5 separate regions of the Homo sapiens genome follow, and regions 1, 2, 3 and 4 are each linked to region 5. The links are contacts of gene promoters, found by promoter capture Hi-C in blood cells and fetal thymus (Javierre and others, 2016). All regions are on one chromosome and are shown on one strand. The core of a region is centred on a gene start or on the middle of the fragment in contact, and the rest is flanking DNA. Distances in the headings are between cores, read along the strand shown.

Region 1 (2,700 bases), core at 201-2,700, 250 kb after region 5:
AAAGATGTATCTAGGCTGCTTTATGTCCTGGTTTGCTCAGATTGCTTGATTTGTTTCACATGTGTGTTGTATTAATGTAGAATAATCCCACCCGTGCCATGAAAAAATTAGTCATTGGAAGAAGACTAATGGGAGTCATTTTTCTCCAGCATTAAGAGTTTTTTAAGATGAAATGTTTCTCCAACTTTGTTTATGGTGATTATTTTTTTTGTGTATTCACAGATAATGAAGGAAGAAAACACAGGAGCCGGAGCAGAAGCAAAGAGGTAATTAACACTTTGTAGTGAATAGGTACTTTAAAATACTTATAAAGTGTCTGGTAGAAAGATTTGTATGAATATAAGACGTTGTCAAGGTAAGTACAAAACTTGAAATTTAAAAGGTTTATTGGGTTATAAAATAAGCATGATTTTGATTCATCATTTTTGAAGAAGATGTTTATGTGAAAAGTACCTTCAAAACTTTAATTTTATTATATTGTGAAAATATTCACAATAAAAATTTCATATGAAGAATATGATTGGTTTTTTTAGGCCTGTCACACAGAGCTTCCATTAATCTGAGGTCCCGAGTCTCCTGGTGCCTGACAGTTGCTCAGGATTTTTAAACAGCAATCATCTTTACATAGCAATACCCTAGATATCTGTGCGCTGCTTTTTCCTTATGAACGATAACAGGAGTTCTCTTTTCTTTTGCAAACTAGTTCAGTTTCCCTAATAGTAGTATTGAATTTTGAAATAAAGGTTTGAGTGAGGGACAGCTGAAAAGGTGGCGGTGACACCAAAACTTGAGGAAAAAGAAAGGCAGCAGCTGTATTGCAAAGGAGTTACTTGTTCACCCACCTGAGAAGACAAAGAATGAGCCAATAAGGAAGTGTAGAAGTAGTAGCCAGAAAGGGAGAAGAGTCTTGTGGGGGCTGGGTAAGGGACTCCTAAAACAAGAGTGGGCAGGGACTTCACCTCTTCCCGTAATGGAAGCTCTGTTAAATTTTTAATTTAGGAGAGTTTTTGTGAAAATGACTATTTTGTTTAGCTCACATGATAACATTTCTATAATAAATCATACTCAGCGTGCTTATGCGCGAAGAGACTGAACTGAAGACGCTGCAGACTCAGATAGCAAAATAATAAGCCTACTTCATGATAAGGTAACTATTAGTCATTCAAACTCCTATTTCCCTTAAATATATCTTAAATCAGTTAAGGGTTTTAATGTTTTTTTTAAATTAATAGTAATGTTATGTTTGAAAAACTGGTTTGAAATAAACTTTAAAACCTTTAGAAGTTTAACCACTTAAGACTTTTCCAGTCTGCCTCGTTATAGCAAAACCAAGGAAAATTTCTTTTCTAAGCTCCTATAGAGAACTGGCAATGAAACTAAAATTTAATTGTGTCTCCAGGTCTCTTATTTTTCTGCAAATAATAAATTATGTACTATGATCATTTTCAGATAAATCATCATGCATGTTCCAAAATGATTGGCCAAGTTTTATTTTTAAGAAACATTAATCGTGAGTGGAAAGAAACATGCTATGGCCTTTTGGGAGACAGTAGTGTCTTATTACAGTGGAAAAGTGGTAGCGTGGGCATCAGAAAAACATGGGGAAGGTTCAGCTCACCCATGTAGCTTTGTAACTTTAGATCTTAGTTATACATAAAATAAGGGGATTAAGTTAGAGGATCTTAGTTTCCTTCCAGAATTAAAATTTAGTGATTCAGAGATGTCTAGGATTTTAAACTTTCACTACAAGATGAATTTGACAGATCTTCCTGTAGGGAACTGTAGTATGTAGCACTTCTACTTTGGTATTTGGTAGGATGAGACTTGATCATGCAGTTAATTTGAGCTGAGTCTCTGAATGCACATGTGAAGGCCTTGGTCTTTTTAAAGTGTGGGGGCAGTATGTATTGTGTGATGGCATGTGGATTGTTATACCTAGTTTGGTTTCTTTAAAATTGAAACATACAGTTGCCATTTCTACCCTAGGTACATGAAGTGTAATACTCCTCTAAGCCTATTGGGATACTGCAAGATGAAAAGTGATTGCTTCACAGTTTAGACATTGGGAGGAAAATCAAGAGCTGTCTTTTAGAGGATGTAGCAGGCAGTATAACTGTAAAAGGGACACTGCATCTCTGTGTAAAATAATTTGAAATTATAGAAAATATTAGTACTTAGTAATAATTATATTTAGCTACCTAATTGAAATGCGTTTCTGGTGCACTTTTTGTGTCATTATCTCCATTACTTACTTAAACTTAACATTATGTAATCTGGATTTAGAAGTTGATGTATATACATGGTCTGTATTCTTTTAGATAAACATAAGGGATTCCTCTTTTGTCTGGCATAATGGCTTTTCAATATTTCAACTTTAAAAATCATTGTTTCTGTTGTATTGAAAATATTTTGGGGAGGAACTACATTTTGGGTGTTTATAGTAAAAAAAATAGTAATTACATCTGCAACATTTGGGTGATGTGAAACTAGATCTTTTTTTTATTTGCCACACACTCCTAAGGTTACTAATGTTGCATCACAACATTTTTGTCTACTGATACCCATACTAACTCTCTTTGTTGCACTATTTTCCTGAAAGAACCAACTTCTTCTTAAAACAGGGAAGAAGACATGAATCCAAAGATAAATCCTCTAAGAAACATAAGTCTGAGGAACATAATGACAAAGAACATTCTTCTG
Region 2 (2,700 bases), core at 12-2,511, 240 kb after region 5:
ATTTTCATCGTTAGCTTTCTGAACAAATGCCTAAATGCAAATTAATTTCAAATAATAAAATTAAACATAGAAAAATACAATCAAGGATTTTATTCTTTAAACTCTAGAGTTATCAATTATCATTAGCAATAATTCTGCCTATATTCTAAACATCTTACTTTTAAAATGGAAAACTATTTTGGACAAGTGTACTAAATACCTTCAAGACTGCTCCCTTGCGATTCCTTGAGCCACAAGCCTACTAAACCTGGCCTAAGAAAATTTTTGTTTGACCTGGTGCTAATTTCTATTTATGTGAGAGCCAAGAATTCGGGATCCAAGCTGTGGTAACACCTTCAAAGCTTAATTTTTCAAAAAAACATTTTTTTAATTTAAAATACCATTCAGTATAGGGAAGAAACTCAATCCTGGCAGGCAAGAGACATGGTAACCAAGACCCCAAAGGCTTCATATGTCTGGGCATTCCCTCCTCTACCTTCCTGCCTCCCTTAACAAGCTGACTGGAATCAAACAGCAGAAAGCTGCCTGCTCCTGAGTTAGCTGACCAAGCTGAATTCCCAACCATACAAGAACCTAACCATTTGTCTCCTGGAGTTACTTCTCCCAAAGTTGTTAAAGTGGGACTCTAGCATTCCTAATAAAAACCTGACCATCTTCCAAGGTTACTAAATCAGGATTCTAGCAGTCCTGCTAAGCACCTGACCAGATCCAGCCAGCTGAAGACAAGGTGGACTTCAACCCTGGCCTTTCACCAAGTATTTCCTAATTTTAACCTAATTATGATACTAAAAATCACACCCAGGGATGGAGATTTAACATGCTAGTGAGATATACAACACATGAAAAAGGATGCGACCAAAATTCACAGGCGCTAAAAGTTCCCTGCCTCTACATGCCTACAAATCACTCCCTTTTTCACCTCAGCTTCCTCAAAATGACAAGAGCTAAGCCCTTCGGGGAGCTAGCACTTGGGATCCCTTTCCCATACGCTGTTTCCTTGAGATTCCTTGAGCCACAAGCCTACTAAACATTCCCTGGGAAAATTTCTGTTTGACCTGGTGTTAATTTCTATTTACACGAGAGCCAAGAACTCAGGATCCAAGCTGTGGTAACACCTTCAAAGCTTAATTGTTCAAAAAAACATTGCTTTAATTTAAAACACATGTTAAGTAATAGTTTGCTAGAGTTTTAGTTGTCTAAGAGATTATTTAGAATTTAAATAATGAAAATTAAAATACAACAAGATCTTACATTAGTGAGTAGTGTTTGTTTTGATGTTACATGAATAAGATGTAGGTTGCCACTTCTCTCGCCAACCAAAAGAAACTTTCCTTCTTGACAAAGGCCAACTACATCCACTTCAGTATCTGAAAATTTCAAATCAAAGTTACAAGCTTCCTTCGAAAATCTTTATTTTCAATACAAAAAAAATACAAATTTTTCTCATTAAAAAGCCAACGATTACTTAAGTTACTTCTAAATACTGCAAAACAGATGTGATGAAAGTAAAAAAGAATGTTGTTGACTTTTATTCAGTCAACAAATATTTTTTGTTTTGTTTTGTTTTTGAGACAGCGTCTCGCTCTGCTACCCAGGCTGGAGTGCAGTGGTACCACCCCAGTTCACTGCACCCTAGACTTCCTGGGCTCAGTCAGGCAATTCTCCCACCTCAGCCTCCCAGGTAGCTGGGACCACAGGTACACACCACTATGGCCAGCTAGTTTTTGGTATTTTTTGTACAGACGAGGTTTTGCCATGTTACCCAGACTGGTCTCGAACTCCTGAGCTCAAGCGATTGTCCATCTCTGCCTCCCAAAGTGCTGAGGTTACAGATGTGAGCCACTGCATGCAGCTGGTCAAGAAATATTTACTGAGCACTTACTATATGGTAAACTTTGTTCTAGGCCTTTTACATATATCTGAGAACAGTAACAAAAGATTACCACCGTCACAGAGCTCATATTCTAAGACAGAAATAGCTGATAAATGACCAGGCGTGGTGGCTCACACCTGTAACCCCAGCACTTTGGGAGGCCGAAGCAGGCAGATCACTTGAGGTCAGGAGTTCGAGACCAGCCTGGCCAACATGGTGAAACTCCGTCTCTACTAAAAATATAAAATTAGCCGGACATGGTGGCATGTGCCTGTAATCCAGTCTACTCAGGAGGCTGAGACAGGAGAATCGCTTGAACCCAGGAGGTGGAGGCTGCAGTGAGCTGAAATCACGCCACTGCACTCCAGCCTAGGCAACAGAGCCAGACTCCGTCTCAAAAAAAAAAAAAAATAGCTGATAAACAATTAGCATAATAAACAAACTGTGAGACATGTAAGAAGGTGATAGATGTTCTGGGGAAAAAAATGTAGAGCCAGGTAAGAGAGCTCAGAAGAATGGTGCATTTTGCAGTGTTAATTAGAAAGCTCACAGGAGACATGAAAGAGGTGAGGAAGTTAGCCAAATGACTAAGATGAAGAGCATTCCGAGCATTCAGATGGTGGACACAGCTCAAGGAAAGATCATGGAGTGGGAAGTGCCTGTTGTATTCATGCAAAAGCAAGAAGGCCAAGGTAACAGAAAACAAAGCAAAGAGGGAAGGGACAAGACAGAAAAACAATAGTATGTAACTGGCTTACGAACTCAAGTTATTCCGCCACAATGTCTTTTCACAAATGGATCATCGTTACTCATCCCACCACTTAATA
Region 3 (2,700 bases), core at 109-2,608, 190 kb after region 5:
ATTACGCTTATAAGGTTCGCCCACATTACTGTGTGTAGTTCTAGCTCCAAACCTCTACAGTTTAAATTTACATAAGACAGAAACACATAGAAAATAATGATACAAATAAGACTTACCAGCTAGAGGCACAAGAGATGAAATCAGTTCATAAATCACTGGAAGCACCATCTGTGACTCAAGAACAATTCCATCTTCACTGAAGAAGTCACTGTAAGACCACTCTTCATATGGATCTTTATGTGTCCCAAAAGAAGCCTAGGTGCCAAATCATACAAAAAAGAGAGAACTCAGTACGCTGCACAACACATTGTTTCTTCTGGTCTATGGCTTATAGAAATTTCATTTTAAGTTAAACTCTAACAGAAGGACAATGTCGAGGGAGGCCTTGCTGGAGGCCCAATGTTTTGAAAGATAGTGCAAATTAAAGCCAATCAAGTGACTGGAACAGAGAAGTGGCCTCATGCCCTTACGTTGTTTTCCGGTCTAGGGTAAGAAAACATAAGAGGTGGATTCAGTATTTTCATAAACTTTGCAAATGATTAAAAAACGGCCCAGGTGCAGTGGCTCATGCCTGTAATCCGAGCACTTTGAGAGGCTGAGGTGGGGGAATCACTTGAGCCCAGGAATTGAAGACCAGCCTAGACAAGATGGTGAGACCCTGTCTCTGCAAAAAAAAAATTTTTTTTTAATTAGTCAGATGTGGTGGCACACACTTATAGTCCCAGCTACTCAGAAGGCTGAGGTGGGAGGACTGCTTAAGCCCAGTTCAAGACTGCAGTAAGCCTTGATCATGCCACTGCACTCCAGCCTGGGTGACAGAACAAAACCCTGTCCGAAAAAAAAAAAAGGTGCATAATGCGTTGCCCAGGATTTAAGGGAAAAAACTCAAAAGTAACTTACTTTCATGAGGATTCCACAGTCATCCATTTGGCATTGTCTGGAAAGCTCTACAGCCATTAAAGTATGTTTACATAGTTCTAAAGCATCTAGTAAAAAATCTGAAACAAAATGGAGAAAAATCATTAAACTCATATTTCATGTCTTTAGGATAATGAAAACAACCTTTTAATAATTACCATTTAAAATTCTAAGGAAGGCCACAATGTAGATAGAAAGGTTCCATATAGCTTTGACTACCCTAAAAAGTTAAATTTTTTCTCAAGCTTGACTTGAAAATAAGATCAGATATGGGAGGCAAGGAATTTCATAATCCTACAAAAGTGAGTAATGTCAACAGTCAGAAATGACATTGTTAGTATTTTGAAATACTTTCAAACAATAATCCTCAAAGAGAATCAATTATAAGCATCCCTTTGTGAAATGCAGATACTATCTCTAGTCTGATTACCGTGATGTCCAATTGTAAAGAGACAGCATTTGGGAGACAAGTATGACATGAACCAGAGAATATAAAACTACGTATATTATAAATATTGTCACCTGGACTGCAAATGGTGGCAGCTTGGCTTGCTAGATCATGTATCATGGAAGGAAGATTCAGTCCCACAGGCACTGTCACTGGGACATTATCAGCCAACATCTGACAAAGCTTCTGACATGTCAGAAATAGCAATTTCCCAGTGTCAGCATTGCAGTGATACTTAAACAAGTCGCTTTGGAAGAAAGAAAGTATTGGTAGTTAGAATACTCACATTGAAAGTGAACGCATGGCCTTTCTTGGATTAATATATCACCACCACCATCAACACATTAAATGTCTTTTAAATGTTCTCATGGTATATAGTGTAGTTTTTCTTTTGTTTTTTTGAGACAGGCTCTAGCCCTATCGCCTAGGCAGGAGTGCAGTGGCACAATCATGGCTCACTGCAGCCTCAACCTCCAGGGTCAAGCAATCTTCTCACTTCAGCCTCCCAAGTAGCTGAGACTACAGGTGTGTGCCACCACACTTGGCTAATTTTTAAATTTTTTTTGTAGAGATGAGCTCTCACTATGTTGCCCAGGCTGGTCTCAAACTCCTGGGCTGAAGTAATCCTCCTGCCTTGGCCTCCAAAACTGCTGGGATTACAGGTGTGAGTCACCGTGCCCAGCCTGTTTTTCTTTTTCTGAGACTGAGTCTCACTCTGTCGCCCAGGCTGGAGTGCAATGGCACGATCTGGGCTCACTGCAACCTCCACCTCCCAGGTTCAAGCGATTCTCCTGCCTCAGCCTCCCGAGTAGGTGGGATTAGAGGTGCCCACCACCACACCCGACTAACAGTTGTATTTTTAGTAGAGACAGGGTTTCACTGTGTTGGCCAGGCTGGTCTTGAACTCCTGACCTCAAGTGATCTGCCCACCTCAGCCTCCCAAAGTACTGGGATTACAGGCGTGAGTCACCACACCTGGCCCCAGCCTGTTTTTCAAATGACTAAGGATACCATTAAATGCTGAAGTGCACAGTAACCTAAATTTAATGGTTATGTTACCTAACTCTGCAGTATTGCTTACTTGCCTTTTATGCTACTACTTTCTGACACTGAGGCCCAAAATATGCTCTGAAGGTGAGAAATCAAGAATTGCTTCTGTGAAAAAAGAGTGTCACTGGCCCTACCCTTATGACTGAAGAAATCAGGCAGTTGTTACTTTCTTTCTTTTTGTGAGACGGAGTCTTGCTCTGTAGCTCAGGCTGGAGTGCAGTGGTGTGATCTCGGCTCACTGCAACCCGCCACGATCCTGCCTCAGCCTCCCCAGTAGCTGGGAC
Region 4 (2,737 bases), core at 100-2,599, 150 kb after region 5:
TTCTTTAGTGTCAGCCCACTTCTTCCTTCTCCCGTTCAGTTTCCATATCCACCCCCAGCTCTATCCCAAGAAGCTTATTGTTTCTAAACTTGTGGGTGCTGGAAAATTAGATAACCAGGTTTAACAAAAGTGATGCTACATAAAGTCATTAATGTTCTGAGCAAGTGTCTAGACATAAAATTGTAATGTAGGATTTAGAACAGGGCTGTGAGACACTTGATTTGGGGGTTCAGATGACCTGTTTAATTGTCAGATTCTAAGGTCATATTCCAAGAAATTGGGTTATTAAATGATTAACTTTTGGATATGTGCAGTAATGAGAGATGTAATATTTTGAGCTTTTAATTACAACCAAATAGCTCTACAGTTGACATTCTGCTCCAACATAAAGATAGATTTTTTTTTTTTTGAGACAGAGTTTCGCTCCTGTTGCCCAGGCTGGAGTGCAATGGTGCGATCTCGGCTCACTGCAACCTCTGCCTCCCGGGTTGAAGAGATTCTCCTGCCTTATCCTCCCTAGTAGCTGGGATTACAGGTATGTGCCACCATGCCCGGCTAATTTTGTATTTTTAGTAGAGACAGGGTTTCTCCATGTTGGTCAGGCTGGTTTTGAACTCTCAACCTCAGGTGATCCACCCACCTCAGCTTCCCAAAGTGCTAGGATTACAGTCGTGAGCCATCGTGCCCAGCTTATAAAGATAGATTTTAAGGAAATTCCACAGTAAGTTTTTTTTTTTTTAATTAACTTACCTTAAGTCATTTGCCAAATAGTTCACTAGCTCAGTGATATTGTTGGTATTCATCGCATGCATCTTCAACATTTGAAAGTATTTGGTCTTTGCCAAAATCCCAAACTCCTTCTTATTGATGATATTATTCAAAATCAGACTTCTAATCTATAGAATGACAGGTATCATTAAGATCAGACTTCTAATCTATTAGAATCAGACTTCTAATCTATAGAATGACAGGTATCAAGCCTTTATTCAATATCAAAACATTTCTGACAATCGGAAGCCCAATTAGCACTGCATTGTGACTGCGCCTCCTTTTTGAGGGGGTAAAAAGGGAAAGGAGGCCTGTCAGCATCAGTCAATAAATAAAGTAATTGTTGTTGTGCACTTTGAGACTTTTTATGAGGAAGAAGATCTGTTTTCAATTAAAAGCACTTAAGGCTACAAATTTTCCATGGAGTACAGCAGTCAACAAGACGCTCAGGGTCCCTGCCTCTTAAAAAATTTACTGAGGTTTTAGTAAAAGCAAAATAATTCTATACATAAACAAACAGCTAGACATAGCAGTTTTCAGCTTACTCTTGGTTTGGGAAAATGACTACCTTCTAGTATCAACATTTTCATAGCAAAAAGGAGATGAAATCGCCTCTTACTTGATGTGAAAATCCTGCTAGCTGGCCCGTGTTCATATGCTCTTCCAATTGCTTTAAAATAACCTGAGGGTCACAGGAACCCAGAAAATTCTAGAGAAAAATCAAAGCAGAATTAATAGAAAATTGTTATTATTTATTCCAACAGCAAGAGCCGTTGATCAGGTATTTTGCTCTTCTAAGTGCCAAAAGAAATCTATTTAAATACTGAAACACTGAACGACATCAAGGAATGAGTGTATGAATGATGAAAAGAGGGGAAAAAGTCAAAGACAAGAACAGATGGCTTTTAAAAATGTAATTAATAAGCCAAATGACAAATAAAAAATATGCATGTTCAGCTGGGCGCAGTGGCTCATGCCTATAATCCCAACACTTTGGGAGGCCAAGGCCAGCGGATTGCCTCAGGTCAGGAGTTCGAGACCTGCCTGGCCAACATAGCAAAACCCTGTCTCTACTAAAAATACAAAAGTTAGCCGGGCGTGGTGGCAGGAGCCCGTAACGTCAGCTACTTGGGAGTCACTTGAACCCGGGAGGGAGGCTGCAGTGAGCTGAGATTGCACCACTGGACTCCAGCCTGGGTGACAGAGACTCTCAAAAAACAAAACACAAAAAACAAACAAACGAAAAAGCCTGAATGCATGTATGTTCATTTATGTAGATCTCTATCTACTGGTATATCTACCTGCAGGGAAGATAACTGTAAAACATTCCAAAATGCTTTGTTCTACTTGTTCTCTATTATAAAGGAAATGAGAGTTATTTTTAAAAGTTCTATCCCCAAAATGCTTGTGGCTCCTTCTGATGGGCACCCACACATAAAATCTGACTCTCCCCCTCTTCTATCTCCCACATTCAATTGCTAAGTCTGCTGCCTTCCTTGTAGCCTTCTTGTCTTGTTCAAGTTCATTACCAGACCCTATCATGGGTACTTAACCCTCAAGCCTTCCCTGCCTATGCACAAGGTTGCTATGAAGAGATCAAGTGGGATAAAATTCTACTCAAATGCAACATCTTCCCAACTGTTTCACTTCTTGTCCTCTCCTCTGTCCAAGCCTACATGGGTTAATGGGTTATTCCTTTTAAAATAATTCCTTCATCATTTCAGTTTGCTGTTCTAAAATAATCACTTGTTTCCCCACTGATAGACAATAAGGCCCAAACCCCTTGTAAGACAGCCCTCAGCTGGACCTTAATCTATCTTTCAGTCTTACCTCCCACTAAGCCCCCATACAAGCTTCACACATATCTGATGTATTCATGCTTTACAGGTTTGCTGAAATGAAAATGCGACCTTTTGCAAGGGACATGCAAGATGAAACCTTCTATTTCCTTGGCAGCCCAGAGGAATCA
Region 5 (2,700 bases), core at 175-2,674:
GTAATTAAAGGTTCAACAGAGGCCCTTTGTACCTCCTTACTGCTTTTTGAAAAGTAAGATTTGTAAATAAACAAGAATAATGAGGTTGGGCTCAGTGGCTCACGCCTGTAATCCCAGCACTTTGGAAGGCCGAGGTGGGCAGATCACCTGAGGTCGGGAGTTCGAGACCAGCCTGGCCAACATGGCGAAACCCTGTCTCTACTAAAAACACAAAAATTAGCTCGGCATGGTGGTGGGAGCCTGTAGTCCCAGCTATTTGGGAGGCTGAGGCGGGAGGATTGCTTGAACTCGGGAAGCAGAGGCTGCAGTAAGCCGACATTGCGTCACTGTACTCCAGCCCTGGGGACAGAGCCAGACCCTGTCTCAAAAATAAATAAATAAGAATGATGAATAAATTACAGTTGCTAGTCTTAACAAGGAAAATGGAATTTGGAGTCAAGGGATTTCAAGTCCCAAGGCTTGAATTCCAGTGTTGGGTTAGCCCTTCATTCATGCACTCAACAAATAATTTATTGAGCGCCAGTGGCTGGGCCACAGACCTCCAGGCAAGGAGCACATATTCCACTCCAGGAAAACAGGCAGTAAGCCGAGTACACAAAGGCAGGTCGTCTTACACTGATGGACGCGAACCTTGGGCAAGCCCACTTCCAGACTTTTTGGTACAGTGGAGTTGTGAGAGCTCCTTCCTCTACTCGCCAGGTTGTGTAAATTAAGGACACCCTGAGAGGTAAATGGGAAAGCAGCTCCCCAGACGCCAATCGTCCTCCTTAAACAGTAAGCACCGGGTACGCGCTACTCTGTGGCCCGGGCTGAATAACAAGGTGTTATTGGGTTAAGGAAACGGTCGTGACGCCGTTTTCCTCTAGTGTATTGTTTCACTTTTTTTTTTTTTTTTTTTTTTTGAGACGGAGTCTCGCTCTGTCGCCCAGGCTGGAGTGCAGTGGCGCGATCTCGGCTCACTGCAAGCTCTGCCTCCCGGGTTCACGCCATTCTCCTGCCTCAGCCTCCCGAGTAGCTGGGATTACAGGCGCCCGCCGCCACGCCCGGCTAATTTTTTTTTTTTTATTTTTAGTAGAGACGGGGTTTCACTGTGTTAGCCAGGATGGTCTCGATCTCCTGACCTCGTGATCCGCCCGCCTCCGCCTCCCAAAGCGCTGGGATTACAGGCGTGAGCCACCGCGCCCGGCCTGTTTCACATTTTAAGTAGACACCGTTCTTGAGAAGCAATAGATTTCGACCAATGTGCACCGTTCCCGCGGCGCCCCGCCGCGCCCGGAACCGCTGCTTACCTGGCGCCCGGCAAGGAAGGCTGCCGGAGGGTTCATAGGTGTTTCCTCCGCCCCCGGAGAAGCCCGGTGTGGGCGGCGTCACCTCAGAAACGCCATCGGCGCGCCTGCCCCGAGCGGCGGGGGCGAGCCCGGAGCCCCGGGGCCCCGCGCCCTCGGCCGACCCCCGCCCCGTACTCCAACCGCCTGCCTGGTGCCCACGCGGCGTGCGCCCGCCGGGGCTCGGGGCTCCCCGCCAGGGTTTCCGGGCCGCAGCCCCGCTGCGCTGGTGGGCACTGTTCTTCTGCCTCGGAAACTGGGGGCTCCCAAGTGGCTCAGGCTGCGTATGGACGCTTTTTGCCCACGCCCGAGGCTCCGGCGCTGGAAGGCCTGAAAGAACCGGCTGTTCACCACTACCCAGAGAATGAAGAAGTCAATAAAGGCTGCTGCGCCGCCCCCAGCACTCTGGTTTATGACATTTGAGTTGCTCACTTCCCTATCTTCCATCTTCCCCCTAATAACCGTGAGCTCGGCCGTGCTCGCTCCTGTGTAGCTGGCTCCCAGAACAGGACCTGACACTCGAATGCGTGGAGGCAGAGCCCAGCCCTCGGGGATAACAGTTGCGGGCTACCCTAGCACCTTTGATACTTTAAACCAAGAATCACAGATGAAGAGGGGGAAATTTACTCTTGGGAGCTCCTGAAAAGCAATGAGGAGAACCACGGTACTTTGTCATGACAAAATCTACGATATTCTGGGTTGAATCTAAGCTTTTTCACCTGTTCTTCCATAGTCACCTCTTCATCCCCCTTTCACTCTTCCTAAGATGTGGGAACGGGACTAGGAAAAAATAAGGCTTATCACACTTCAGCCCCGGCTGCCCATCCCTGAATGCTTAACCCATCAGACAGCAACACAATTACTAAATACGGTCGGTCTTACAGGGTTTCAACTTTACTTTTTGGTTGAATATGAAATGCCAAAACATGCCCTTGTGTTCAAAAAATACAATCTGAAAATGGAAAAACAAAATTAAGATTTCTTATTTTGAAGCTTTACTGATAGGCTCATGTTTGGGAGACCAAAGCAATGTCTTAGAATTTAAAATCAAGAAAGCTGGGCGCAGTGGCCTGTAACCCCAGCACTTTGGGAGGCCAATGTAGGAGGATCTGTTGCGTTCAGGAGTTTGAGACCAGCCTGAGCAACATGGTGACACCCACCTCTAAAAAACTTTTTTTTTTTTTTTTTTTGAGATGGAGTCTGGCTCTTGTTGCCTGAGCTGGAGTGCAATGGCACAATCTCGGCTCACTGCAAACTCTGCCTCTGGCCTCAAGCAAATCTCCTGCCTCAGCCTCCCGAGTAGCTGGGATTACAGGTGCCCGCCACCACGCCACCTTTGTTGTATTTTTAGTAGAGATGGGTTTCACTACCTTGG

What was found. Contacts are between HindIII fragments. The CHiCAGO score rates a contact against its expected background, and 5 or more counts as called.
Region 1: a fragment that was not itself captured here is called in contact with the fragment with the promoter of CCDC62 in region 5 in 1 of 17 cell types (endothelial precursors); the score reaches 5.1 in endothelial precursors.
Region 2: a fragment that was not itself captured here is called in contact with the fragment with the promoter of CCDC62 in region 5 in 1 of 17 cell types (M1 macrophages); the score reaches 5.0 in M1 macrophages.
Region 3: a contact is called between a fragment that was not itself captured here and the fragment with the promoter of CCDC62 in region 5, in 1 of 17 cell types (M1 macrophages). The highest score is 6.0, in M1 macrophages.
Region 4: a fragment that was not itself captured here is called in contact with the fragment with the promoter of CCDC62 in region 5 in 3 of 17 cell types (M2 macrophages, M0 macrophages and M1 macrophages); the score reaches 5.7 in M2 macrophages.

Annotation. Positions count from the first base shown.
Region 1 is chr12:122,518,951-122,521,650 of GRCh38, reverse strand. RSRC2 (arginine and serine rich coiled-coil 2) reads left to right here. Exons shown (of 10, transcript NM_023012.6): 3 at 223-266; 4 at 2,622-2,700. Among named protein-coding and RNA genes, the nearest start is that of RSRC2, 6.6 kb to the left of the region's middle. The HindIII fragment of the contact is 5,031 bases long and covers 1-2,700 here.
Region 2 is chr12:122,537,006-122,539,705 of GRCh38, reverse strand. It overlaps KNTC1 (kinetochore associated 1), which reads right to left. Exons shown (of 64, transcript NM_014708.6): 4 at 1,252-1,367; 5 at 1-30. Among named protein-coding and RNA genes, the nearest start is that of KNTC1, 11 kb to the right of the region's middle. The HindIII fragment of the contact is 271 bases long and covers 1,126-1,396 here.
Region 3 is chr12:122,583,191-122,585,890 of GRCh38, reverse strand. KNTC1 (kinetochore associated 1) reads right to left here. Exons shown (of 64, transcript NM_014708.6): 35 at 1,441-1,613; 36 at 901-998; 37 at 117-255. Among named protein-coding and RNA genes, the nearest start is that of KNTC1, 57 kb to the right of the region's middle. The HindIII fragment of the contact is 386 bases long and covers 1,166-1,551 here.
Region 4 is chr12:122,620,621-122,623,357 of GRCh38, reverse strand. It overlaps KNTC1 (kinetochore associated 1), which reads right to left. Exons shown (of 64, transcript NM_014708.6): 61 at 1,388-1,477; 62 at 751-896. Among named protein-coding and RNA genes, the nearest start is that of MIR9902-1, 74 kb to the left of the region's middle. The HindIII fragment of the contact is 2,548 bases long and covers 76-2,623 here.
Region 5 is chr12:122,773,296-122,775,995 of GRCh38, reverse strand. CCDC62 (coiled-coil domain containing 62) reads right to left here and starts at 1,424. Exons shown (of 13, transcript NM_201435.5): 1 at 1,290-1,424. The coding sequence starts at 1,325. RefSeq lists silencers at 560-854, 1,377-1,586 and enhancers at 1,057-1,196, 584-1,277. The HindIII fragment of the contact is 6,061 bases long and covers 1-2,037 here.